Regions from separate parts of the Homo sapiens genome. Here region 2 is linked to region 1. The links are contacts of gene promoters, found by promoter capture Hi-C in blood cells and fetal thymus (Javierre and others, 2016). All regions are on one chromosome and are shown on one strand. The core of a region is centred on a gene start or on the middle of the fragment in contact, and the rest is flanking DNA. Distances in the headings are between cores, read along the strand shown.

The links. The method cuts DNA at HindIII sites, captures the fragments that hold promoters and counts their contacts. A CHiCAGO score of 5 or more calls a contact.
Region 2: a contact is called between the fragment with the promoter of CCDC82 here and the fragment with the promoter of CEP295 in region 1, in 3 of 17 cell types (total CD8 T cells, total B cells and fetal thymus). The highest score is 7.9, in total CD8 T cells.

The regions. Positions count from the first base shown.
Region 1 is chr11:93,660,166-93,663,549 of GRCh38, reverse strand. It overlaps CEP295 (centrosomal protein 295), which reads right to left and starts at 1,868. Exons shown (of 30, transcript NM_033395.2): 1 at 1,776-1,868. RefSeq lists an enhancer at 1,745-1,874 and a silencer at 2,035-2,104. The HindIII fragment of the contact is 3,556 bases long and covers 1-3,150 here.
Region 2 is chr11:96,388,662-96,392,398 of GRCh38, reverse strand. CCDC82 (coiled-coil domain containing 82) reads left to right here and starts at 2,487. Exons shown (of 10, transcript NM_024725.4): 1 at 2,487-2,555. It overlaps JRKL (JRK like), which reads right to left and starts at 2,386. Exons shown (of 2, transcript NM_001261833.2): 1 at 2,326-2,386; 2 at 1-1,916. The coding sequence starts at 1,749. The coding sequence ends at 175. RefSeq lists a silencer at 2,314-2,573. The HindIII fragment of the contact is 1,223 bases long and covers 1,707-2,929 here.

The DNA of each region.
Region 1 (3,384 bases), core at 619-3,118:
ATCTACAGGCAGTATTCAATTTTTGTCAATTATCACACTAATGTCTATTTTCTGGACCAGAAGCCAATCCAAGGATATAACACATTGCATTTGTTGCTGTGTAACTGTGTGTCATCTAAAAAGCAGACGCTAAGATGGGAGTAAACCTGCAAATATTTTATTAGGAGAAATGCGTGTGTGAGGGAAAATGGGAGGGAGCTGATAAAAGTTACAAGCGCCTCAGACTTCAGTGTAAGTCTAACACTGAATGGAGGGAAGTAACAATGGGTAGACCCCTCTTAGACAGCCATGCAGTATAAGAAATGTTCAGCAAGAACCCGTGGGGAGATTCTCAGGAACAGGCCTGCCACTGTCAGTGGCTAGGAGCAGCCCATGGGAAGCATGGCCTCAGTGCAAATGGAGATTTCAGAATGCAGGAGATTAAGATATGTGAGTTACATTCTCATGTCAAAGTTGTCATGTCCCCCTTAATCTGGGACAGTTTCTCAGTCTGTCTTTTCAAGACCCTGTCATTTTTGAAAATACTGGCCAAGTACTTTGTTGAATGTCCCTCCATTTAGATTTGTCTAATCTTATGTGATTAAACTGAGGTTATGTATTTTTGGCAAGAACACCACAGAATTGATTAGGCACCTTTTCAGTGCATTGTTATCAAGAGGTAAATGATGCTGAATTTTGGTCACTTGGTTAAGATGATGTCCACCAGGTTTCTCCTCTGTAGTTACTACTTTTCCTTTATAAATATCTCATGAAGACAGAGTAGAGGCTACAGAAATATGCTTTTCATCATACTTTTGCCCATTGACGTTAGTATCCATTGATGACTGTTGTCTGAAACAACTACTGTGGTGTTTACCAAATAGTATTTTCTATTTCCATTATTCCTTCTACAATTATCAATCGGAATCCTGCTGTAAGGAAGTTTTCCCTGCTGCCCCATTTACTTGTTTATTAATTATTTATTCTTAGTAATATGGATTTTTAAATTCTACATTTTATTACTATCCAATATTGAAGATTATACTACTTATCTTGCAAGATTTCGTCCTGAGGATTAAATGGCTCCTGGTACATAGTAATCACAAAATTAACACTAAACTTGGAAGATCTGGGTTCAAGACCCAACACTGCCACTTATTAGCAGGAAGATACTGGCCAAGTCACTGAAGTCACTTTGGTTTCGTTTTCTTAAACTGTATAAAGGGAATAATAATATCTACCCCAAAAGGTTTGTTCTGACGTCTATGTGACTTAGCGTGAAGTCTTCAAATACACTCTAAGTATTAAGGACTCAAAAGTTCACCATTGTTTTAAAAGTTGAGTTTGTGACAGGATTGAATAACTGTGAGATTAAGGTGGCAGACACCAAAAGAGAGCGTGCTCTTTGCATGAAACGATCCAGGCAAGGCTCTTTTAACAGCTACCAGGTGGCAGGCCATGTCCGCGGGTGATCTGGGGGAAGCGCCCCTCCCCCGACACGGAAGCTCCGCGACAGGGGAGGCTGCGTGGGAAGCTCGCGCGACCCGACCCCAGGAGAGCGCGCAAAGCCTCTCGCACTGAGTTACCGGGTCTGGTCCGGACACTCCTTACAGCCGCCAGCCCGACCGCGGGCAGGGCCCACGGCCTGCGGAGCCTGAGAAACGCGAGCCGTACCTGCGTTCGCAACAAGGCGCCTTCCTGGGATCCCATTCCTCCGGAATACAATCCCAGCTCTTGGGCCTCGGGGAGTCATGCTCCTACGGGGCGACTGGGAAGCCAGTGCATCCCTGACTCACCTGAGAACCCGGGGCCTGGACACAGTAACCGCAGCTCAGAGCAAGCCAGCCTGGTAAGCTCCTGCCCATCAGCTGCCCAGCAGCCGTTTCTGCGCCTGCGGGAGAGCCATCGCCGAGCCGCCGTCACTTCCGTCATTCAAACCGCCCGCCAATGGCCGGACCAAACCGCGGGAATAGGCCCTGTCCCGCCTTCCTCGGGGGCCGCCGGGAAGGCTGCGCGGTGTTAAAAACCCCGCGCCCCGCGCACGCGCACAGGCACGCGCCAGCCCCAGCCTGCCTAGGGGCCCATTATTTGTCACACCTGTCAGGCTTTGACGTTTTCCCGTATGGGCCGCGCTCGGTGGCTCGCGCCTGTAATCCCAGCACTTTGGGAGGCCAAGGCGGGAGGATCACTTGAGCCCAAGAGTTCGAGGTTATGTATTTTTGGTTATGAGTTCAAGACCAAGTCCTTTTAAAAACATGGTGAAACCTCATCTTTACAAAAAATACGACAACAGCAAAAATTAGCCGTGCGTGGTGGTGGGCGCCTGTAATCCCAGCTACTCGGGAGGCTGAGGCAGGAGAATCGCTTGAACCCAGGAGGTGGAGGTTGCAGTGAGCCGAGATCCCGCCAGTACTGCACTCCAGCCTGGGCGACAGAGCCAAAGCCTGTCTAAAAAAAAAAAAAAAAAGTGCAGAGCCATGAGGGTGACTTTTGTTTTAAGGCCCCATCATGAAGATATCTTGGGATATGCATCCTTTTCTGTACTGACTACGGAATTCATTGGTACTATTATGCGCAGTTAACGTCTTATAGCTTTCATTTAAGGCCTCCAGCTCATAACAACAATGAGCCGTATGTTACCCTGTGCCTCCAGAGGTACAGCGCACGGAGAGCACCTCACGGATTTATCTGCTGTAAATAACCAATAATCAGGCGGTGAGCACAGGTTAATACCTATTGAGTATCTGTTATGTGCCGAGTACATTATGTTACTCTGGATGGATTATGATGCCTATACTAGATTTTGCAGTCTGGGTCATGGGGGTTAAACATCAGGAATCAAAGGATTAAAAATGGGGGGTGGGGATGGGAAGTTGCTGACACGATCAGATCTGGCTGCACAGTGGGGAAAAGGTCAGAGAGAGTGAAGACAGAAGGCCGTATACTACTACAGAAAGTGAAAGATAATAGCAATGAGAATGGAGAGAGGTGAGTAGATTGAATAGGAAGCCAAACATCAGGAATTGGTGGTTACCTGGTTATGGGAGGCACAAGAGGAGAAAACAAGGGTGATGCCCAAGTCCCAGATACCTAGCACCTGGGTAGATAGTGATAACATCCTCCTGGAACACACATGAAGAGAACCAGGAGGGAGAAGTAATAAGTTAAGCTTTGAATATTTTGAATTTGAGCTGTTTATGAGATATCTAGACAAAGGGATGCATTTCAGAAACTTAGGACACAAAATTAGCAGTACTTGACAAACAATTGCATGTGAGATTGAGAGAAAAGGGAAAGTGAAGTTGATTTCATAGGCCACTAGCTTGGGTAGCAGTGTTGATTCTTGATTGTAAAGGGAGAAATCAGAAATGGCAGTTAAGTGGGTAGGGTGATGAGCCAAGCTCT
Region 2 (3,737 bases), core at 1,238-3,737, 2.7 Mb before region 1:
AAGGACAAAAGACACAGATGATGAAAACACATAATCCTCAAACCACTTCAGATACATTTTGTGCCTGTATTTCACAGGACCAAGTCTGAGAATTCAGAACACAAAGAAAATTAAGCCATATTGCAAAGAGTTTGTCACAAACACAATGAGCAGAACAATAAAATTGAAATGACATTATTGACTTGACTTTGTCATCTTCTGTTTATTTCTGATGGTGGCTCGAAGTTTACGTATTACCAGTCTATCAGGTAGAATCATATCACCTTGTTGTTCTAGATAATCCAATAAATTTTCAGTCCACTGGAGGGCAGCTGCATGATTAATATGTTTCTCTGGAATTAGTTCTATTTCCTCCTCCTCATTTTCACTGGATTCATCTGCCTGGCCTTGTGCTCTTCTGATGATTTCGCTATCAGTTAACACTTCATAGCCTGGTTCAGTACTGTCTACTTCAAGCCATTTTTCAAGGTTCTCAGTAGTCACATTTTCCAATCCTTTGGTGTGTTGTAAAATGGCAGCCACAGTAGCCACAGAAATATCTTCAACATCAAAGTCCAGGCTCTCTTTCTCCTCTACCATAGGGAGAATCTTCTTCCATGCTCTGCTAATGGTAACTGGTTTTACTAAGTTCCATGCCATTGCTATTTCATAAAGTGCATCCAACAGAGTTAGCTTCTTCCAGAATGATTTCAGGTCATTACCTTCTTCCAAGTTGTTCTGGAGAAGACCTGCACGATAATTTCTCTTCATCGTTGCTATGACTCCCTGATCTGAAGGCTGAATCAATGAGGCCACATTAGGTGGTAAATATTTAGCAAATATTTGGCCATCATCTGACCTTAGGACATTTTCATTTGGATGTGTTGGTGAATTATCCAACAAGAGCACAGCCTTTTCCTGCAAGCCTTTAGATCTTAAATACTCTCGAACTTGCGGCACAAAAATTTTATCAAACCATTGTCGGAAAATGGAAAGATCCATCCATGCACCTTTTTGGCTGAAATAAGAGACTGGCAGGTTTAAGGTGTCAGTTGATTTAAAGGAGCGAGGTTTCTTTGCTTTCCCCACAACACAAAGTTTAAGTTTGTGTAAACCTGTTGCATTGGCACAACACATGATTGTGACTCTTTCTTCAATTGATTTGTGCCCAGGGACAGTGCATTTACCTTTGATTACTGAAATCCTAGAAGGCAAGCACTTCCAAAAGAGTCCAGTTTCATCTGCATTGTAGATTTGTTCAGGCTGTAAATTCTCTCGTTCAATAAAATCTCGAAAGTTATTACAAAAATCTTCCACCGCAGTCTCATCTCCATTTAATCTTTCATTTCTAATGTTAATCTCTCTAATGCTGTGCCGCTGCTTAAAACGAGTTAGCCAACCGGCAGAGGGGTTAAAATCACCATCCATTCCCAAAGCATAAAAGAAGAACTCTGCCCTTTTTGCACAAATTGGTCCAGATATGGGATTCCCTTTTGCTCTTTGCTGGTTGAACCATTCCAGCATTGCCCTGTCCAATTCCTCATACATGGATGGCTTCATAGATTTCCTCTTGGCCAAAAGACTTGTGGAATCAGAACTGCTTGCATAAGTTATAATCTTTTCCTTATTTTTTCTTATATCCCGAACTGTTGTTTCACCAATTCCATAAATCACTGCCAGTTGTTTGGAAGAACCTCCGTCTTCAAGTTTCTTTATTATATCAAGCTTATCTTTAATAGTCAACACCACACGCTTCCGTTTCCCTGACATAGCGAGGTTCTGGGACTCACCCCACACTCACAATGTAGCAATCCACAAAATCCTTCCTTCTCTTACACAGGCTCACTTCAACAGTCTTAACACACTCAGTCTTTCATCCTTACCAGCAACCTGGTGGCCCTGATCCCCTCCCGGGCTGGGGTTGGCTGGCAAATAGACTGCAGAAGAAGGTGAAAGAGGAGGAAGTTTGAGAGAACAGGCCTTTCTTTAACTTATACGGGCAGTAGCGGAGGCCCCATGTCACCGCGGATAATCCGGATTAAAAGCATGTGTTTTATTACCCCAGCAGCCGTGAGAAAGACTATACCCCCATTGTGGCCACGAACCTCCTGCACGTCCAGATCCCGGGTAACCGCGCGTCACTAACCCCTGCCACACCCCAAAGTTACGACAGAGAGCCGAAGAGCCTAGGAGTCAAGGACTGGCACCCTTCCTCAGGGGAACGGATATATTAGATTCCTTCCCCAGCAGCAGGGCCCTCCCGCCGCGCAGCCCCAGTTTCCCGCGCCAGCTTTAGCCGGGACAGTCCTCCCAGTCCCTCAAAACCCGCCAGGCCCCTCTCCCCACCTCTCTTGCAACCAGGACCCGCACAGCTCCCTGACTATCGCGCGGCAGTCGCTCCGCCCCTAGCCACGCTCCCGGAAGATGATCCCTCCCGCCGCCTGGCCCCACCCCTCGCCCCACCCAGAGGCGGGACTTCCCTTGGTCCCCGGAAGGGGGGGAGGAGCATCGCTTGTCCTGAGCTGGTTGCCGGGGCAGGGGCGGAGGCGGAGGCAGAGGTGGAGGCGCTTTGAAAGGTGAGAGCGCGAGGGCGGTGCGGGGCTGTCTCCCGGCTGGGACTCGCTCGCGCTCCCGGTGCTAATGGTTTATGAGAGGGGCGGGGGAAGCCGTGCCTCCTCGCGGACTAAGAGAAAAATTCCCGCGGGCGCTCTTTGGGTGGGCCGGAGAACGCCCCTCAGCCCTTTGCGCCTCTAACCCTCCTCAGCTGAGCTGCAGTGGGCGCGGTGCCCGTTATTTCCGCCTTGGGGAGGTGCTTGGAACTGATGTAGGGAGCTCGGTTGGTGATTTCTCGGGTTTCTGGCCTTTCCAGACCCTTGTAATTGTTTTCTCGGTGCAGAGCTCTTTTGGGGTCTGGGGGTTTCCGTCGTCCTGCGCGCGTCATCGCGAAGCTTGGCCTGAGGGTCCGGTTTCCTAGCTACTGTGCCCCTCCCTCCTGGAGGCAGAGTGACGGACTAGTGGGCTAGCGGGCGCTGGGTTCCTGCGTCCCGCCAAAGAGGTTTGTAATCATGAAAGTCACCCTTCCGGGTGTTAATTCCTGAGAGGATCTATTCCACTGTCTACCACTCATTCCTGCTGCATTAACCTTCATTGTTAACGGATTTTAATGAATAATATAGTTATCCCGGATACCATGCTGGCAGGATCCACTTTGCGAAATTGTGGACTGTTGGACTGTGATTCTAAGTGGGGGAAATAGGCTTTCCTCTCTTTATGTTTATTTTCTTATATCCTATTTCTGTCATGTTCTGTCTTGTTTTCCTGCCAATAGAAGAACTATGATAAATTTATTCATAGCAGTGTGATAAGAACTTGATCTTAATCATACACTGTAGCCCTCAAATCGTGTATTATGCTGGCTTGTTTTTGGTGTCCCTAGTAATTTCATCAGATTGTGAGCTCCTTGGGAGCAGAGACCATGTTTATTTGAAATGGTGGCAGCACAGTTCCTAGCAGGTGCTTGCATTTTGGTAGATATTCAATAATTATTTTTCGGCTTATTAATCTTTGCTCTCCAAACTGCCATATAAAAGAAAACATCGAAGAGGAGTGATGTTTTACACCCAAGAATGGATCCCTCCTGGTAGAATTTCAAATAATGACCTGGGGTTCCACTGCCTTTCAAATCTGTAAAGTGTTAACTACCACCTGCATTGTTTATACAGCAAGTAGGTGATTTCTAGAATGAATCTTTTCTTGAG